Linked DNA regions of Homo sapiens: all the other regions are linked to region 1. The links are contacts of gene promoters, found by promoter capture Hi-C in blood cells and fetal thymus (Javierre and others, 2016). All regions are on one chromosome and are shown on one strand. The core of a region is centred on a gene start or on the middle of the fragment in contact, and the rest is flanking DNA. Distances in the headings are between cores, read along the strand shown. Region 1 holds the start of CNEP1R1 (CTD nuclear envelope phosphatase 1 regulatory subunit 1). Region 2 overlaps NOD2 (nucleotide binding oligomerization domain containing 2). Region 3 has its middle 5.4 kb from the start of NOD2. Region 4 holds the start of LOC101927272 (a long non-coding RNA gene). Region 5 has its middle 28 kb from the start of SNX20. Region 6 overlaps LOC105371244 (a long non-coding RNA gene). Region 7 overlaps NKD1 (NKD inhibitor of Wnt signaling pathway 1).

What was found. Contacts are between HindIII fragments. The CHiCAGO score rates a contact against its expected background, and 5 or more counts as called.
Region 2: a contact is called between a fragment that was not itself captured here and the fragment with the promoter of CNEP1R1 in region 1, in 4 of 17 cell types (neutrophils, naive CD8 T cells, total B cells and 1 more). The highest score is 6.9, in neutrophils.
Region 3: a contact is called between a fragment that was not itself captured here and the fragment with the promoter of CNEP1R1 in region 1, in 5 of 17 cell types (naive CD8 T cells, total CD8 T cells, naive B cells and 2 more). The highest score is 7.7, in naive CD8 T cells.
Region 4: a contact is called between a fragment that was not itself captured here and the fragment with the promoter of CNEP1R1 in region 1, in 12 of 17 cell types (total CD8 T cells, naive B cells, neutrophils and 9 more). The highest score is 12.8, in total CD8 T cells.
Region 5: a fragment that was not itself captured here is called in contact with the fragment with the promoter of CNEP1R1 in region 1 in 13 of 17 cell types (total CD8 T cells, naive B cells, total CD4 T cells and 10 more); the score reaches 12.0 in total CD8 T cells.
Region 6: a fragment that was not itself captured here is called in contact with the fragment with the promoter of CNEP1R1 in region 1 in 3 of 17 cell types (endothelial precursors, fetal thymus and total CD4 T cells); the score reaches 7.4 in endothelial precursors.
Region 7: a contact is called between a fragment that was not itself captured here and the fragment with the promoter of CNEP1R1 in region 1, in 6 of 17 cell types (naive CD8 T cells, activated CD4 T cells, naive B cells and 3 more). The highest score is 8.8, in naive CD8 T cells.

Annotation. Positions count from the first base shown.
Region 1 is chr16:50,023,925-50,026,495 of GRCh38, forward strand. It overlaps CNEP1R1 (CTD nuclear envelope phosphatase 1 regulatory subunit 1), which reads left to right and starts at 1,301. Exons shown (of 6, transcript NM_001281789.2): 1 at 1,301-1,416; 2 at 2,472-2,543. The coding sequence starts at 1,392. RefSeq lists an enhancer at 990-1,491 and a silencer at 1,305-1,614. The HindIII fragment of the contact is 11,127 bases long and covers 1-2,219 here.
Region 2 is chr16:50,728,028-50,730,598 of GRCh38, forward strand. NOD2 (nucleotide binding oligomerization domain containing 2) reads left to right here. Exons shown (of 12, transcript NM_001370466.1): 11 at 1,791-1,874. It overlaps CYLD-AS1 (CYLD antisense RNA 1), which reads right to left. Exons shown (of 7, transcript NR_184279.1): 5 at 1,816-1,926; 6 at 986-1,123; 7 at 1-423. Among named protein-coding and RNA genes, the nearest start is that of CYLD, 13 kb to the right of the region's middle. The HindIII fragment of the contact is 3,218 bases long and covers 1-2,571 here.
Region 3 is chr16:50,686,963-50,689,533 of GRCh38, forward strand. No RefSeq gene overlaps it. Among named protein-coding and RNA genes, the nearest start is that of NOD2, 5.4 kb to the right of the region's middle. The HindIII fragment of the contact is 3,251 bases long and covers 1-2,571 here.
Region 4 is chr16:50,668,730-50,671,300 of GRCh38, forward strand. It overlaps LOC101927272 (a long non-coding RNA gene), which reads left to right and starts at 126. Exons shown (of 3, transcript NR_110908.1): 1 at 126-431; 2 at 1,954-2,264; 3 at 2,419-2,571. It also overlaps a transcript of SNX20 not described here. The HindIII fragment of the contact is 1,314 bases long and covers 594-1,907 here.
Region 5 is chr16:50,652,449-50,655,019 of GRCh38, forward strand. No RefSeq gene overlaps it. Among named protein-coding and RNA genes, the nearest start is that of SNX20, 28 kb to the right of the region's middle. RefSeq lists a silencer at 1,926-2,106. The HindIII fragment of the contact is 254 bases long and covers 1,173-1,426 here.
Region 6 is chr16:49,406,240-49,408,810 of GRCh38, forward strand. All of the region lies in intron 7 of LOC105371244 (a long non-coding RNA gene), which reads right to left. Among named protein-coding and RNA genes, the nearest start is that of C16orf78, 34 kb to the left of the region's middle. The HindIII fragment of the contact is 1,749 bases long and covers 425-2,173 here.
Region 7 is chr16:50,615,696-50,618,266 of GRCh38, forward strand. The region is part of intron 4 of NKD1 (NKD inhibitor of Wnt signaling pathway 1); the gene reads left to right. Among named protein-coding and RNA genes, the nearest start is that of NKD1-AS1, 3.3 kb to the left of the region's middle. The HindIII fragment of the contact is 953 bases long and covers 821-1,773 here.

The DNA of each region.
Region 1 (2,571 bases), core at 51-2,550:
GTAAGCTGCAATTGTTTTAATATTGCTTGTTTAGCTGCTAGAGGAAAAAAACGAACATTGTGGCAGTTAGAACATCGTTTATTCTTTAAGTGTCTGGGTCTTGAGTGATTTAACCCTTGCCTGGCAGGGCCTTAGGTCTTGTTTATAAGTTGGTATGTTACTGCCACAAAAAAATCTAGCCCATCAGTCTTAGATTCTTTTTTTTTTCTTTTTCTTTTTTGACAGTCTCACGCTGTCACCCAGGCTGGAGTGCAGTGGCTCACTGCAACCTCCGTCTCCTGGGTTCAAGTGACTCTCGTGCCTCAGCCTCCCAAAGAGCTGGGATTACAGGCATGCACCACCACGTCTGGATAATTTTTTTGTATTTTCAGTAGAAACAGGGTTTTGTCATGTTGCCCAGGCTGGTCTCAACTCCTGACCTCAAGTGATCCACGCGCCTCAGCCTCCCAGAGTGTTGGGATTAACAGGCGTGAGCCACCGCGCCCGGCCAGGATCTCTATTTTAACACAACTATTCTTATTTGAAATCAATTACTTATTTGCATGTTTGTTGCCTGCTGTAGCCCTTCCTCTTTGCGGGCAGGAATCCTGTCTACCTGGCTCACACGCGTATCAATACAGTGTCTAGCATGTTAGGCAATAAAATGATTTTGAATGAAAGAATGCCACCAATAAATGAACAAGAAGGCCTTGTGATCAAATACAAATGTAGTCAATCCCTTACAGATCTCTTCTTAAGTTATAGGTATTTGGGCTTACACTTTGCCTCATTTAGGAATTATGAAAGCTGGGTGATGTGAGAGGAAAGTAACCAAGAGAGAAGTGTTTACTTAAGGGGTTGGTTATCTAGGATACCATAATTAAGGAAACTGGTTATTTAGGGTTCTAGTTAGTTCTGTACAGATTTCATTACTCCTTGAGATCCTTGAGGACAGAACCAGCTCTTTGATTTCTGTATCCCTCGCTAGCGACCAGAATAATGCCTGGAAGGTAGTGGGCGCTCAATCAACATTTGACGAATGAAAGAACCAAGCGGGGAACGGGGGATAAATGAATGAACGAACTGGCTCCGGAGGGCTGCAGTTCCTCCCCGGGGCAGCAGGCGACGCCAGCGTTACGCCCGCCTGGCCGCCGGCAGTTCTTGGTCCCTCCGGCTGACCGTCCAACGCTAGGCGCCGAGGCCGGTGCAAGAGACAGCCAATAGAAAGCTGTCTTAGTTGGAGGTCTAGTAGAGGAATCCAATGAGCGTAGCGGGTCTAGGCAAGGGGCGGTGCGACGGGGAGGGGCAGCGGGGAGCGGTTAGAGGTGGGAGTTGGCGCTGCGGGCCGGGCGGGGGCCGCGGAAGCTGCGATGCGGACAGGGCAGCGGCGGTGACCCGAGCTGCCGCCCGACATGAACTCGCTGGAGCAGGCGGAAGGTAGGGTGGGCCGCCCGGGCCCGTCCCCCGTCTCCCCTCGGAAGCTGGCGGTGCTCCGGAGGAGCCGGCGTCGTGAAGACCCCCGCCCCGGGAGGAGGCCGCAGAGGATGGAGCTAGGGGCCCGGAGCTTGGGGGCGCGTAGGCGGCCGTACCTGGCCAGACGCGGGGGGCGGTGCCTCAGCTCCCTGAGTCCCCACAAACCTAGAGGGTCGACCTCCTCGCCAGCTTCTATTTTTATTTTCTTTTCACTGGCAGACACTTGCACTTCGTGCATTGCAGCCTGCTAATTCATTTCATTTCATTCTCACAGCCCCGCGAGTTGTATCCCTGATTCCTGCGGTGGTTTCCGGTAACTGCCAAGGTTAGGAAGTGCTGCTCGGTGTTTTAAAGTTTAAAGCACACCACTGCGGAAAGGATACCCCACCACTCACTCGGAGCAGCTTAGACGCCCCTGTCTTCTAGAACTAGGCGCTGCCTGGGTGCCACGAAGATCACCTGTACCCCTTCGGAGGGGGCAAGGGGAATGTCTTTCCACACCCACTCGCTATCAGTGTCAAGAAGTCTAGTAAGGCCAGACGGCGTAGCCATTAATTAAATATAAGAGCTGGAAACCGGAGGCGGGTAATTGCAGTCAGGTAGACCTCGAAGACTTTGATGTTAGGCACTACGTGGTTCTAATAGGAAGTTCTTGGTTCCCAGAGAGCTAAAACTCGACCTGATTTTAATTTTATTTGCAACCCTGAAAATGTTCGCTTTTGGCGCTGGCCGAGGCTGCTGCTTATTTCTCCCAATACCATTTATGAAGCTTCTAAAAGTAAATCAGCAAGTTTTCTTATATGAGAAATTGGAATTAAAGAGCCCTAATTTTTTGTCAAGTGCTTAAAAAGCTGTCATAGTAAATGAAATAAACAGTGCAGTGATACATGGAAGTTAGTGTGTAAGACCTGAAGCAGTTAAGAGTATCTCACATGTCGTCTTAATGTTAGGTAAATACTCTGACATTTCGTCAGACGAGTAAGAGTGGCTAATTAGAAAATTGACATCTTTATACCTAGATCTCAAGGCTTTTGAGAGGAGACTTACTGAATATATTCATTGTTTGCAACCTGCTACTGGACGCTGGAGAAGTAAGTTCCTGAATGTTATTTTAAGGGA
Region 2 (2,571 bases), core at 26-2,525, 700 kb after region 1:
GCTGTTGTTGTGTAGAATAAGAGAAGATGACACTTCAAAATGACGATTTTCTTGGTTTTCACTCAGCTCATGAGGCACACACTTATCGAGGTTTTTCACCTTTCCAATTTGCTTCAAATGCTGAATGACCATGGAATGGTCGATGTTGAGTTCTCAAGTAGTTGTAAGAAAATCAGCTTTGATGATTGCTCTCAATTGGTCATTGTCAGCTTCTGATGGCCTGCCAGTACACTCCTCATCTTCAAGGCTCTTATCTCCTTCGCAAAACTTCTTGAACCACCACTGCACTATACGTTAGTTAGCAGTTCCTGGGCCAAATGCATTGCTGATGTTGTGAGTTGTCTCCGCTGCTTTACAACCCATTTTGAATTCAAATAAGAAAATTGCTTGAATTTGCTTTTTGTCTAACATCATTTTCATAGTCTAAAATAAATATAAAATAAACAGAAAGTATTAAGTCATTAGCAAAAAATCATAAAGTGAGAATTGTGCATTAAAATGATGTATAGCATAACCACATTTATTTAAGAATGTATTCCAATATCAAATGGCAAATTTCAACAATGCAAAAACTGCAATTACTTTTGCACCAATCTAATAGAAGTTCAATAAATACTGGCAATTACAATTGGCATTGCCTTAGGGTCAACTTGTAAGACATTCCTGAAATTGTGGGAAAGGGGGAGGACCTGGAGTGGACATTATTGGAAGGCAAAGCTGTAACCAAAAGAGCAACCTGGGAAACACATGACTCCTCTGTTGCTGTCCCTGGCCCTATCCTGTCTCCCCTCCCTGTTGTCAGCTACCTCATATGTTCTCTAATCTCTGTCTCTGTGCCCTCAAAGACCCCCCTGAAAATAGAAATATTACTGCTCATTGGTTATTTTCTATCAATTAAGTACTGTATTAGTCCGTTTTCATGCTGATGATAAAGATATACCCAAGACTGGGCACTTTATGAAAGAAAGAGTTTTATTGAACTTACAGTTCCACGTGGCTGGGGAGGTCTCACAATCATGGCTGAAGGTGAAAGGCACATCTCACATGGCAGCAGACAGGAGAAGAGGGCTTGTTCAGGGAAACTCCCCTTTTTAAAACCATCAGATATCATGAAACTTATTTACTGTAATGAGAACAGGATGGGATTCAATTACCTTCCACTGGGTCGCTCCCACAACACGTGGGAATTCAAGAGATTTGGGTGGGGACACAGCCAAACCATATCAAGTACTGTGCAAGTGTTTTAGGCATGCAGAGAGTGGTGGGTCTTCCCAGCAAGCAGAGTGTGGGGAGGTAATGGGGGACTGGTGGCTGACTTAATGGCCCAGGACCCATGCCACAAGGAGATGGATGGTGGATGTGAATAGGAGCCTGCTTACACCCATCACAATTTAGATTCTTATGCTCGATGGCACGGGTACTCTTTTAGGCCCATTTTACCAATGAGGAGATTGGGACTAATTTGCTCGAGATCAAAAAAGAAGTGGTGTAGGTGGGATTTAAACCCAGGATGTCTAGCACTAAAATGCAGGTACTTAACCACTATCCTAAGGGAGTGGCTACTTAATTTGATAAACTCATCTAGTGAATGGAAGAGAGACGGTTACATTTCACTGATGGTACTGAGCCTTTGTTGATGAGCTCATTGGGAATCTCAGACATGAGCAGGATGTGTCTAAGGGACAGGTGGGCTTCAGTAGACTGGCTAACTCCTGCAGTCTCTTTAACTGGACAGTTTCAAGAGGAAAACCAAGAATCCTTGAAGCTCACCATTGTATCTTCTTTTCCAGGTTGTCCAATAACTGCATCACCTACCTAGGGGCAGAAGCCCTCCTGCAGGCCCTTGAAAGGAATGACACCATCCTGGAAGTCTGGTAAGGCCCCTGGGCAGGCCTGTTTTAGCTCTCCGAACCTCAGTTTTTCTATCTGTAAAATGGGGTGACGGGAGAGAGGAATGGCAGAATTTTGAGGATCCCTTCTGATTCTGACATTCAGTGAGAATGATTCTGCATGTGAAGGATCTGATTCTCTGTCTAAGAAAGAAGTCTTTACCTCTTTAAGTAGGGAGCAATGATTTCATTTTTAAACCTTGACTATTTATTCAGCAACTTCTCTGCTCTATGAGATAGTGTAGGAATGGGGATGTGGTTGAAGAATGAAAAGAAAAGTCAGCTCCCGCCCTCCTAGAAATTGCATCTGCCTTCACAGGTCAAGGATATTGGATCAGACCTTCTGCGGTTCTGAATGGAGATTACACAGGTTAGGAGCAGGTTGCACAGTGTTTCCAATTCTCTATAATTAAAGCCATAGACTTTCATGTATTGAAAAAAGCAAGAATTGCATTCTTGACAGATTCTTTCATTGCCTTAAAAAGAATGACTAGCCTTGGGAGTCTGGGCAGCTGGGTCCAGTGTTGTAGACTTTCTCTCTGCTGAGCCACAGCTTCAAAGATTTGTCCTTCTTGTTTCCAGGGATCTATTTCTCAGACAATAAGTAAAGGCTTTCCCTGGCCTAATGTGCTGTAAGTGAATGCTACTATATATGTTCCAGGCACTGGGCTAGAGACTAATA
Region 3 (2,571 bases), core at 26-2,525, 660 kb after region 1:
CCTCTGTCAGTAAGTCACCCATGGATAGGGCGCAGTGGCTTACGCCTGTAATCCTAGCCTGGGAGGCTAAGGCAGGCAGATCACCTGAGGTCAAGGGTTTGAGACCAACCTGGCTAACATGCTGAAACCTTGTCTCTACTAAAAATACAAAAATTAGCTGGGCATGATGGCATATGCCTGTAGTCCCAGCTACCTGGGAGGCTGAGACAGGACAATCGCTTGAGCCCAGGGGGCGGAGGTTGCAGTGAGCTGAGATGGCGCCACTGCACTCCAGCCTAGGCAACAGAGTGAGACTCCACCTCGGAAAAAAAAAAAAAGTCACTCTGAAAACAGACTTGGCCAAGCACTGGGCCAGAGGCTGAGGTCCAGCAACAAGGAAGGGACAAGGAAGGGATACCTTGAACCCTCAGAGACTGGTGATACACAGGACGGACACATGGAACTTGGGCCAACAGTGTTGGACCGTCTCGGCTGATGGCCAACAGGAGAACAGGCAGGCTGATCTTTGCAGCTGAGAGGACTGGGAGAGCCCACAGGGACTGTGGGGTCTGGAGAGCTTCCTTGCAGGAGGTGGGCATGGAAGGTCCAGATAAAAGCAGGTAGAGAAGGACGTGGACTTGACTCATAGTCCCACCATTCCATAGCTGGGTCATCTTAGGAAATTCATGATCCTCTTGAAACCTCCGTTTCTTCCTGTCAAAGATGGGGATGAGGAATGGAACCTATTCCATAGAGGTGTTGTGAGAGTACACGGCGTGGCATATGGCAAGTGTTCAATAACATATTCACACTGTGGTGTGCTCACTGTTTACCAGGCACCGAGTCCTAGTGTATGCATCCCTCATGACAAGATCTAAGTGGACTGTCATCCTCACTTAACTGTGAGGGAGACTGAGGTCAAGAGAAATGAAATGACTGGCCAAGAGCATACAGCCGCTAAGGAGCAGGGCTGGAATTCAAATCCAAGTTCGCTGGGGCCAGAGTCCTTGCAGTTGCCACCTGTTGCCTCTGCCTGGGGCACAGAGTGAGCAGAAGCTCACAGGTGGGAGTACTGAGAGCTGCGGGAAGTTGGTGAAGCTAGGGGTGCAGAGATGTGGGGAGGGAAAGCCATTCCTGTCTTCATCCATTTGGGCCAGCTTGTGGAAGTGTTTGGACTTTGGTGAGTGGGCGGGCTGCTTGGAGCAGAGGACCACCAGCGTGGAGACTGCAGCCCACTATGAGGCCGGGTTACCACCACTGTCAGCAGCAGCAGCCGCCGTCGGTCCTGGGCTGAGCTCCTACTATCCAGGCCTGCTGATGGGGGCAGTCCTCGCTCCTGGGGGAAGTGCTCAGGCACAGGCAGCTTCCCGGCCTGGAAGAATTTTGAATGACACAATCCAAGGATTTCTCTCCTCTGAGGCCCGGGGGATTCTGGAAGCATTTTCCCTCCGCCTCTTCTGAGCACTTCCTGCACGGTGCCCATGTCAGAGCACTCAAGGACAGAAATGTCTCCAGGGCATCCCAATTGCCTGTCTCGGCAGAGGGCCCTGCACACAGGGAGTTTTTAATCAATATCCCTTAACTCATTGGAAAGTTTTAAAAAATTATTATTAAACAAGTAAATTATGCTTATTAGGAAATACAGGTTAACACAGAAGAATTTTAAAAGTCCAGTTAAAATCCGATCCTAACTTGTCTTTTAGATGTTTCAATGCATATATTCACACATATCTATTACAGAATTTTTGTATAAAGTATGAGGTAGTAGTCCAAATTCATTTCTTTTGCACGTGGATATCTAGTTTTCCCAGCACCATGTGTTAAAGAGATCATTTTTCCCCTTTGAATTATCTTGGCATCCTTGTTAAAAAACAACCTACTCTTTAAATTTAGCCTTATATTCTTTCTACACAAAGCATTTGGCAGCCCAACTGTTTTTCATTGAGATATAATTCACATACCATAAAACTCACCCTTTTAAGGTGTGTAATTCACTGGTTTTTAGTCCATTCACAAGGTTGTGTAACCATCACCATGATCTAATTCCGGAATATTTTCATCATGCAAAAACAAAACAAAACAAAACAAAACAAAAACCAAACCTCATGCCCACTAGCAGTCACTCCTCATTCCTCCCTCCTCTCAGTTCCTGGCAACCAACAAATCTACTTTCTGTCTTCATGGGTTTGCCTATTCCGGACATTGCATGTAAACGGACTTACACAATAGATGTCATTTTGTGACTGGCTTCTTTCACTTAGCATAATGTTTTCAAGGTTCATTTATGTTGTAGCATTTATCAGTACTTTGTTTTTTTCACAGCTGAATAATATTCCATTGCACAGATAGATCACATTTTCTTTATCCATTCATCAGCTGAGGGACATTTAGTTTGCTTCCACTTTTTCCTCTTATGAATAATGTTGCTATGAACATTTGTGTACAAGCATTTGTGTGCATATATGCTTCAATTCTGTTGAGTATACCTAGGAGTAGAATTGCTGGATCATATGGTAACACCATGTTTAACTTTATGAAGAACCCACAAACTATTTTCCACAGTGGCTTCACCACTTTACGCTCTAACCACCA
Region 4 (2,571 bases), core at 1-2,500, 640 kb after region 1:
GCCCAAGAGAGGCCTGCTGGGGATGTGTTGGGAGCCAACCTACCCCTACCAGCAGGTGGAACTGGTTTTGCCACTCCAAAACAGAGTTCCAGCTATGGGGACAGCCACTAGAGAGCAGAGCTAAGGGCATTCTAGGCCAAGGGGTCACAGTCCACCCTGAACTGTGCCTCCCAGCCTGAAGCCAGAAAGCTCAGGGAGGCTAGCGGCCCTGCCCAGGCCTCAGCACTGACCCTGCACCCCTAGGCCCAGCTGGATGACCCCTAAGAGCTTCCTGGAATTTGGATGCAGGGTTATTCTGTGTGTGCTGCCTCTCAGAGCATGTCACTTTGACGTGGACATCTCGGGTCTGGTTCTGGTGCTGTCCCTGTCTCGCCACGTGACCCTGGATAAGTCATCTCTCCAGGCCTTGATTTCCCCATCTGTAAACAGAGGTGAGTGAAATGATCTTTAAAGGCGTGTCAGTCCATTTTGCATTGCTATAAAGGAATACCTGAGGTTGGGTAGCTTATAAAGAAAAGAGGGTTATTTGGCTCACAGTTGTGCAGGTTGTACAGAAGCATGGCACCAGCATTGCTTCTTGTGAAGCTTCAGGAAGCTTCCACTTATGGTGGAAGGGGAAGGGGGAGTTCGTGACTTACATGGCAAGAGAGGGAGCAAGAGCCATGTCAGGCTCTTCTAAACAACCAGCTCTCATGTAAACTAACAGAGTGAGAACTCATTCATTACCACGGGGAGGGCACCAAGCCATCCATGAGGGACCTGCCCCCATGAGCCAAACATCTCCCACCAGGCCACACCTTCAACACTGGGAGTCACATTCAGCATGAGATTTGGAGGTGACCACCATGCATCCAAACCATATCAAGGACCCATTTCGGTGAGGGGACCAGGAACATATCCCTTCCCCTCTCCTCCACATCCTTTAATGTGGAGTTCAGCAAGGAAAGTAGGGCTTGGGTCAAATTAAAGCCTGGTCTTAATTTCCTGGTCCAGTTATTAGCTGTGTAACCCTGGGCAAGTCACTTAACCCCCTCAGGTTACAATGTTACAAATGATCACATTTTCCTCAACTGAAAAATGGGATAGGAACATGTCCCAAGCAGAGCTGGAGTGACGGTGCTATCAATGGCCCGGCAGTGCCTGGTCACACAGTAGGCCTGGGGAGCCCTGACTTTTACCGCACAGGGAGCTGCTTGCAGAGCTTGTTTTCAATTGTGGGCTTGGCAGGGAACTGCCGGCATCCCAGGGGACAGGGTCTCATGAGGATGCCTAATCCCAGCTCAAAGTGGAGACCCCAGGACTCCATCACAGCCAGTGGGGGGGAGTGGCTGCTGCAGCAGGGAGGGCTTCATTGGAATGAACCCCTTTAAGCTCCAGTCCAAATGCCCAGAGTGGTTTTGCAGGTATGGTTGTGAGGCTGGCATGGTAGTCCCATCTGCAGTCCCCTGGGATGAGGCACCTGTATGGTAGAGGGCCCGGGTGGAGAGAAGAGAAGGATGGGGATGAACCCAGGACCACAGATGGCCCAGTTCCATGGATGATTTTCATTGAGGTGCCTTCAAGTCAGTTCAACACTGGGCTTCTCAACCTTTGAGGTATGCAGGTAAGAGTCACCTGCGGCAGTGGGGGATGCTCTTGTTAAAGTGCAGACTCCGATTAAGCAGGTCTAGGGTGGGGCCTGAAATTCTGTGTTCCTAACAAGGCTCCATCCTGGGTATGGAGGTCAGGTACCCCCTCACCTCTCCTGTGGACCCAGCTTTTGAGGGGTCAGGAGAAGAATGTTCAGTCCCAGCTGCCACCACTCTAAAGTCCCCTAGAAACAAGGACTAATACAGGTGGCGTGGGAGAGGGCCCAGGCAAACAGGGAGGTGGGGTACCCCGGTGGGGCTGCAGTGGGCCCTGCGGAAAGCTTGCTGGAGGTGGGGGCCTAAGGAATTCAAGGACTTGTTCCAGGAACCCAAGGAACGAGTGGGCTCTAACTGCTGCAGCATATGGGAGATGCCAGGAGGAGCTGGCTGTGGCAGGCCATCCCAGTCCATCAGACAACTTGTAGTGGATGAAGATGCAGTGTCCATGGCCAGAAGAAACTCCCGTGGATGCTCAGGCCAAGGCTGCCAGAAGCACGAGGAGGGGCAGCATTGAGTGTCATCGGGAAAAGGCAAAGTGATGGTCCTGAAGCTGCCCCATGTGGCCAGTCCCTTTTTGGGAAGCCTGAATAAATCCATTTCCTGTGCACTGTGTGGGAAGCCAACCCCTCTTCAGAGGTACTTATGGGGAACCCCCCATGTGATTCTATAGGCTCCTTTACTCCCATATAAGTATTTTCTCTCTGTGTGCACCCCCCGCCCCACCCCCCCAACACCCCACACATATCATCTATCTGTGATTTTGAGATGACTTTTTTTTTTCACATTTCAGCACCTCTGAACTCAACAGGATCCTACACTTCTTATAGGCCTGGCTTGATGCTGACATCCTTCAGCCCCAGGGAAGACCTAAAGATCTCCAGGTCTTGAGGCACCTGGAACACCTCCACCTGAGACCACTTTAACATGATTTCTCTGCTTGAGG
Region 5 (2,571 bases), core at 50-2,549, 630 kb after region 1:
CTGAGGAAACCGTTTCCCCTCTGTGAGTCTCAGTTTGCCCGTGTCTGCAATGGGGTTAATTACATCATAAGACACCGGCTGTTGTGAGCAGCGAGATAATCCCCAAGGCTGCTGACAGTGAGAAGGAGGGCTGCCTAGGGTCCAAAGAGATGCAAGAGGCAGTGGCCAGTTTCCTGTCCACATCATCCCCCCAACACATACTGGTTCAGATTCAGTTCCATCTGAGCTGGGCTCCAGCTTGACCAGGTACCATGATGGCAGCTGCCGCCTCACTTCCAACACCATCTCCCGGACCACATGCCTGCTCACAAACCCTTTGGAATACTTCGGAGGCCCTCAGTGGCTTCACGTCTCATGGCCGAGGGTGGATTAGGCGGGGTGCCTAGATGCGGGGAGGACAGGCAGGCCTTCCCTTAAACAGTCAGCCAAGCATCACATGCCGCCTGTCAAAGGGGGGTTTCAGATGCGGGGATTATGAACACCAAGAGTACAATTTCCTGATAAAATAGAAGAGGCGATTAAGTTAATGAAGGCTCATTTTGCTGATTTGAAAACTATAATTAATAGACATTAATTGTATATTTAGAAGTTTAGTGTGGCGTGGGCTCAGGAGCCGTTGTCAAACACAATGACGTTGTAAGTACTGCATAATAGACCGAGCCCAGATGTTCCCCGAAGCCCCTCACGAGAGCTTTGCAAGGGGCTTCTCTAATGATAAAAGCTGCCTCTTGCTGTTCTGCTCTTCCTTTAATGACATCCTTTCTGAGACGATGCTTATCACTCGTGCTTTCATCTTTGGTTAAATAGCATATGGCCTCAGCTGATTAAAAACCCCTCCTGGTTTTAATCAGCAACTCGGGATCAGGTTTCTAATGGTGGCCGTGGTGGCCTTACCAGTCCCATGGTAAGGTTTTTGACCACATCTACATGTGGAGAAAGGGTGGTGGGAGTGAGGGGCTTGGAGCTGGCCCTGTCTGGGTCCTGGGTTGAAGGACAGCTGCTGTGGCCCTCCTGGAATGACCTGAGCCAGGGCCAGTTCCAGGGATGCCTTGGGGATCAGGCTGGGCTAGTTCAGGCAGTCTTCAGGGGACCAAGTTGGCTCAAGGCCAGGCCCGGCTCACCTTGGCTGTGGCTGGAAAGTTGGACTCTCAGATCCCCTCCTTCTTAGCAAAAGCTTCAATGTTTGAGGCAAACTCTGCAGGGTCCACCCAGCTAAGGAGGAAGAGGAAGGGCCACAGAAGAGACTCGAGCGATGGAATCAGATGATGGAGCTTGAATCCTGGTCCCACTGCCTGGTGGCTGTTTAGGCTGCACCAATTGGAGACTTGCTTTCTCATGATCATCAGATGACCTCTGTTAAGTCTCTTTTTATCCCCATTGTACAGATGAGAAAACTGAGGCTCATTCCAGGGTTGAGAGCTGACTAAGCTTGGTCTGTGAGTCAGGAAGGATGGTGATGCTCACAAAAAAGGGACACAGAAATGGGGGCCAGGAACTTTGAGGAGGGACTGTTCAATCCCCTCCCTTCTCCGATATGAGCCCCTTAAGGAATGGGATGGGACCATGTCTGTCCTGGTCATTATGGGAGAGCCAGTGCTGAGCACAGTGCCAGGTCTATGTCAGGTCAGTCCCCAACAGGTGTTTTGAGAGGTAGTGATCCCATGGGAGGTAGCAGAGTGGACCGCAGCTGGTGGCATCCAGCAGGCAGGTGACAGATTTCTATTGATCGCTGGCTCTGCACACACTCCCCCTGCGCTCTAGCTCCTCCTGCCTGCATGGGATCATAAGGCTCATTCTGGCCTATGGCTGGGAGTGGAAGTGCCTGGATGAAAGTATTTAAGAGCCAGTTCGTGTCTCTTTAGTTCTCTCTGCCCCTAAAGCCTCATGTTGACATGGCACAGCTGCAAGAGAGGAGGAGCCTGGTTTGCTGAGCTGTGGCATGGAAGAAAAGCGTCTTGGTTACAGAAATCAGCTGGGTGTCAGTCCCAACTATTCAGGAGGCTGAGACGGGAGGATCACTTGAGTCCAGGAGGTCGAGGCTGCAGTGAGCCGTGATTGTGCCACTGCTCTCAGGCTGGCAACAGAGTGAGACCCTGTCTCAAAAAGAAAAGAAAAGAAATTATCCTGGAGAGTCGCCTGCATTGCCCTGGACTTTGTGAGCATGAGAAGTACCCTGTGATATGTGAAGCCATGGAGAGTTAAGGTTATTGTCTGTATGCAGACTTACATTCCTGCCACAGAACCCAGCCCATTCTGACTACAAGGCAGAGTTTCTGAACTGGAGTTAGAGAGGGAGGGAGGGCTGGATTCAGGGATCTGGCTGGTGTGATCCTAGTTTGACAGGCTCAGGGTCATCTGGTCAACCCCTGCCTGGCACCCACAGCCCCTGGGCCATCCCCTCCTCTCTGTGTGCCAGACAAGGTAGGCTGTCGTATGGGGTCTCCTTGGTGGAGGAGGGTCCTCAGGAGGAGGCCCAGGAGAATGGGCCTGGAGGGACTTGGAGGTGGTGGCCCTTCCTTGCTTTGCCACCTTGCTTGATACAGGCCTGTGGGGAGAAGTGCGGGGGTCCTT
Region 6 (2,571 bases), core at 49-2,548, 620 kb before region 1:
TAGAAGGAACACTTGAGGCCAGGAGTTCAAGACCTGCCTGGGCAACATAGTAAGACCTATCTATACAAAAGGAAACTTTATTTAATTAGCCAGGGATGGTGGTGGATGCCTGTAGTCCCAGCTACTCAGGAGGCTGAGGTGGTAGGATCACTTGAGCCCAGGAGGTTAAGGCTGCAGTGAGCCACGATCATGCCACTGCACTCCAGCCTAGACAACAGAGCAAGACCCTGTCTCAAGAAAAGAAAAGAATTTCTACTTATCCAAGACATCACTAAGAGAGTGAAAAGGCCAGCAACACAAGCAAGAGAAGATATTTCTTCTGACAACATATCTGACAAAGGACTCCTATCCAGGTGATATATTTTTAACTCCTATATATATTGGTAAGAAAAAGGCAGGTCACTCAGTGGAAAAAATAGGCAAAAGCTTCTATTAGTATAGAAACTTCACAAAAGAGGATAGCCAAGTGACCAATAAACATAAAAAATGTCATTAATCATCAGGATATGCAAGTTATAAAACACGATGCAGAATCACTACGCACACACTAGAATGGCTGAAGACTGGCAATGGCAAAGCCCATTGGTGAGAATCTGGAGCAATCAGAACTCTCACACTCTTGCCATTGCCCTGCAGGTTGGCACAACCACTTAGGAAAACTGGGAGCATCCAGTAAAGTTGAATATACACTCCTCTATGGTCTGGTATTTCCTATGCATACATACTGAACAGAACTGCATGCACATGTGCACCAATAGATGTAAGCACCAATGGACGTGTGCACCAATAGACGTGTGCACCAATGGATGTGTGCACCAATAGACGTGTGCACCAATAGACGTGTGCACCAATGAACGTGTGCGCCAATAGATGTGTGTGCCAATGGACGTGTGCGCCAATAGACGTGTGCGCCAATAGATGTGTGTGCCAATGGACGTGTGCGCCAATAGACGTGTGCATCAATAGACGTGTGCGCCAATGAACGTGTGCATCAATAGACGTGTGCATCAATGGACGTGTGCGCCAATGAACGTGTGCACCAATAGACGTGTGTGTTAATGGACATGTGCGCCAATGGATGTATGAACCAATGGACGTATGCGCCAATGGACGTGTGCACCAATGGACGTGTACACCAATAGACGTGTGCGCCAATGGATGTGTGCACCAATAGACATGTGCTAACTTTTGCAGCAACTTTATTCTATATAACCAAGAACTGGAATCAACCCAAATATCCATCAGTCAACAGTAGAAAGCATATCTTGCAGTATAATCATGCAATGGAATACCGCATGAAAACAAGAATGACCAAACAATACGGATGCATTATACACAACGTATTCTGCAAAAGTAGCAAAATACAAAAAAGAACACCTGTGGAGTTCCATTTATACAACCTTCAACCCAGGCCAAAAAAAAAAAAAAATAGAACCTAGACCTAATCTATAGTGTTGGAAGTCAGGATGGTGGCTATCCTTGGAAGAGGGGGTATGTGATCCACCGGAGGCCAGTTAGCTTAGAAAATTCATTGAGCTGTGCACTTGGGATTTATGCCCTTTATATGGGTATATTGTACTTTAGTTAAAAGTACATTTTAAAAAGAAATATACTAAGTGTTTTTTGTTTAAAAAAAAGTTCCGGTTTCGTTTGCTAAAAACAATAGGCTCCTCAATGGTGAAGCTATTCTAGTTCCTTCCACCTCCCAGAGGCAGAGGCTAAACCTAAGTCCCTTAAGGCCTGGCGCATGTCCTCCAGGTGTGCAATGACTGTGGCAGGGCGTGGCCTTGTGCAGCTGCTGGAGTAAATTTCTCCCCTTCCATTTCTTTCCCTCCTCTTGCCCTTCCCCTTCCCCTTCCCTTCCTGCGCCACCAGGTGGGGCTCTATCACAGCAGAAGGCTACTCTCCTGACGGTGTCCACGCTGTCTGGCCCGGCTGCTGGCAGAGCCGTCAGCCTATCCAAGGGGAAGCCGGGCCCTCGAGCCTAAGCCTCGGGTAGATGAACACAAGCCCAGCTACTCACTAACATCACTTTTCTGAGACTTCAATTCTTTTCCTCCAAATCGGGGCAAGAAATGCAAGTTAAAATAACCATGAGGTACCACTCTATGAGACTGAAACATGTTAGAAAGCTAGGGAAGGCCAATGTTGGCACAGACGTGGAAACGAAGGAAGCTTCATGCCTTGCAGTAGGAGTGTGGGCCACTGCAGCCGCTCTAGGTTAAATTACACATGGACACTGCAGGGACCTAGCAAGCAGCCCCACTCCTGGACGTATATTCCAAAGTTCTATCCCAGGAGATCTATTTAAGGACACTAGCACTGGCAGGAATGTCTGGGTGCTGGTGGATGGCAAAACAAGGTGAGTGAAAAAGATGGGAAACAGGATGAGAAGGGACACTCTAGTCTTAACACAAACTGAAAATACACACATACAACAACACACTGCTTACAAGAACACATGCAAATACATTCAGACAGCTGGAAAAGGATTGGGAAGGGAAGAAGGAAGAAATGAAGGAAGGAAGGGAGGAGAAATAAAATGTGAAAGAAAATACCAAGTTTCAAGTG
Region 7 (2,571 bases), core at 47-2,546, 590 kb after region 1:
AGGGAAACGGCATAATCAGTTTTGGTTTTTAAGCTCAGTTTCCTCTTTTGTACGATGCCAACAGTAGCACACCCTGCACAGTGTTAAGAGGACTTAATGGAATAATGTGTGGTACTACTAACTTCACCAGCCTCTCCATGCAGCCCACCACAGTATGTGGCTGTGTTTACAAACAGAGGTGGGATCGCTAGGACCCTCATTCCCTAAGGAGAGCCTGATACAGATACTGCAAGAAACCATTTGGCCTGGAATGCACATATGATATCTTTCTCTTTTTACTGGCAGCAGATTTACCCGCCTAATTATATTTGGCAGAGGCTAATATTAAAATTCATCTGCATTCCCTCGAACAGCTGCTGTCAGAAGGTTGTGGACTCAAACATCTTGGCAAGCAACCCTGAGACTAAAATATTTGCAGCAGATAATCTGTACGTGGACGATTGAGAAAGGACTGTGGATATGTCAGGGCGAGCATCCAGACTCTAGCAAGGAAGTTCTGGCTTGTGTTAAATCTTACATTGTATTCACTGAGAAGAACTTGCCAGGTAACTAGGCTAAGAGAGGGGTCTGCCATGCAATTGAATTGTTAGTAATTTCTGGTCTTTAGTGGGGCTGATTTAGTCATAACTGTGTTTCAAATTTGTCTCTTCTTTCCAAGTTTCATATGCACCAGGCCTTTCTGGATTGTGTTAAGATAAGCTGGCATTTACTGGTATCATCCCAGGTTTGGATTTTTATGTAAATTTCAACTCCCCACCTCCCCATGGCACTTCCCAGTCTCCATCAAGGCAGAAGGTATGGCATATTTGTTATGTAGCCAAGCTTCCTTATGCCTACCTGTAGAATGTGCTGTAGTTCAGCAGGCCTGGCGGAATCTCTGCCCTGTGCACGTATGGGAAGTGCTAGGCATTGGGCAACCCGGGAGCAGAAGCCTAGAAGGCGCCAGATCTCAAGAAACTTGCTTTCTGGCTGTGCAGATGTGGAGGCTCCTGTGAAGCAATCAGAAGGTCCCAGATAGGACTGTACAGAATAAAGTGCTAGACTGAATGGCGGGAGACAGCACCCCACTAGCTCCGGATGCATTCATGCAAATTAGAAAAAAGCTGCCCCTCCTCAAGACACCTTTCTGCCATCTGTCCAAAGGATGTCATAAGCAATACACATATCTAGGGTATTGGTCATATGAGTGGCACCACCTGGGGTTGTACAGTGCACAGCCTGCTTCTTGGATCCGGTCTCCTAGTGACCTCAAGTGACCCCAGACCAAGGGGAAGAGCCCCGAGGAGCTCACCCTGTTGTACTGTTGAGGAGGACAGGTCTGTTTTATTTCACAGGCCTTCTTCTCTTGCTGTTTGGGTGGCGCCAGCTGTCAGCAGCTTGGGCTGGGTGGGCTGTGCCATCCTGCTCCCTGGGTCACTGCCATTTGCCAGGGTAAACAGTCCCGAGTGACTGTGGCTCTCACAGCATGCGGTCCCCAAGGAGCCTCCCATTGGGCCCATGGGGAGGCGGGAGGGGTGTCTAGACCCACAGTCAAAGTTGTCACCATTCAGGTATTTCCTCACTCTTCTTCTTTCGCTCTCTCTTCCTCCCCACCCCTCCCTTTTTTAAACTGGGGGAGGGGAGAGGGAAGAGACTGTCTTTGATCTCAGCGGAGGAAAAAAGTCTGTTCAGGCTTTTGGCTAACACAACAAACAGTGTTTAAAATTTAACTTTGCTTAATTAATTAGTAATTCTGTTTAATGCTGTCTGATCTCCCTCCAAAAGGTATTTTGAAGCTTGAGAAGGGAACATCAAAGGGAGCCGGGTGAAGATGGTCAAGTAATGCCTTTAATCTGGCAGTTGCTGAGGGTGGAGAGCTGCCAGGCTGGGAGCTAATGGGGAGAGAACCGTCATTTGGTAAACACAGCAAGCTGACTCCTCGTGGCTGTGGTGTGAGGAGGGACAGGGAGCAGTTTCCAAAGAGAGGGAACTCCACAAACCATTACCAACCCCCCAGATTCATATGGGCTGACAATAGGCCTTAAGAAAGCAGAGTTGACATTTTCTTTCTTCCACAGCCACTGTATGGTTGGGCAGGTTGTGTACTGCACAAGGATTTCCAGCCAAGCAGGCAAGTAATAGGTGAAACTGTCTGTGCCCTGCTCATCAAGCACATATCCTGGTGGAAGTAGAGGGTGGCACACATCTAAAGCAGCAATCAATCCACAGACTTTTTCATGAAGGGCCGGATAGTATGTATTTTAGACTTTGTGGGCTCTGTTGCAACAGTTCAACTCTGCTGTCACAGAGTGAAAGAAGCCATGGACAATGCAGATGAGCATGGCTGTGTCCCAATAAAACTTTATTTACAAAAACAGGAGGTGGGCCAGGTTTGGCTCAGCAAGTGTAGTTTGCCACCTCCTGCTCTAAGTCACCCAAAAGTGCTTCTTAGGCAAGTGAAAGGCCTTTTTTCCCCACCCGGTCTCCTGCTTTCCTTTTTTCTTCCAAATGAGCAGTGTCTCCTATAGTTCCTCAGACTTTCAATTGAAGAGTGATCAGTATGATCAGCACCCCCTGAAATTAGGCCCCCAA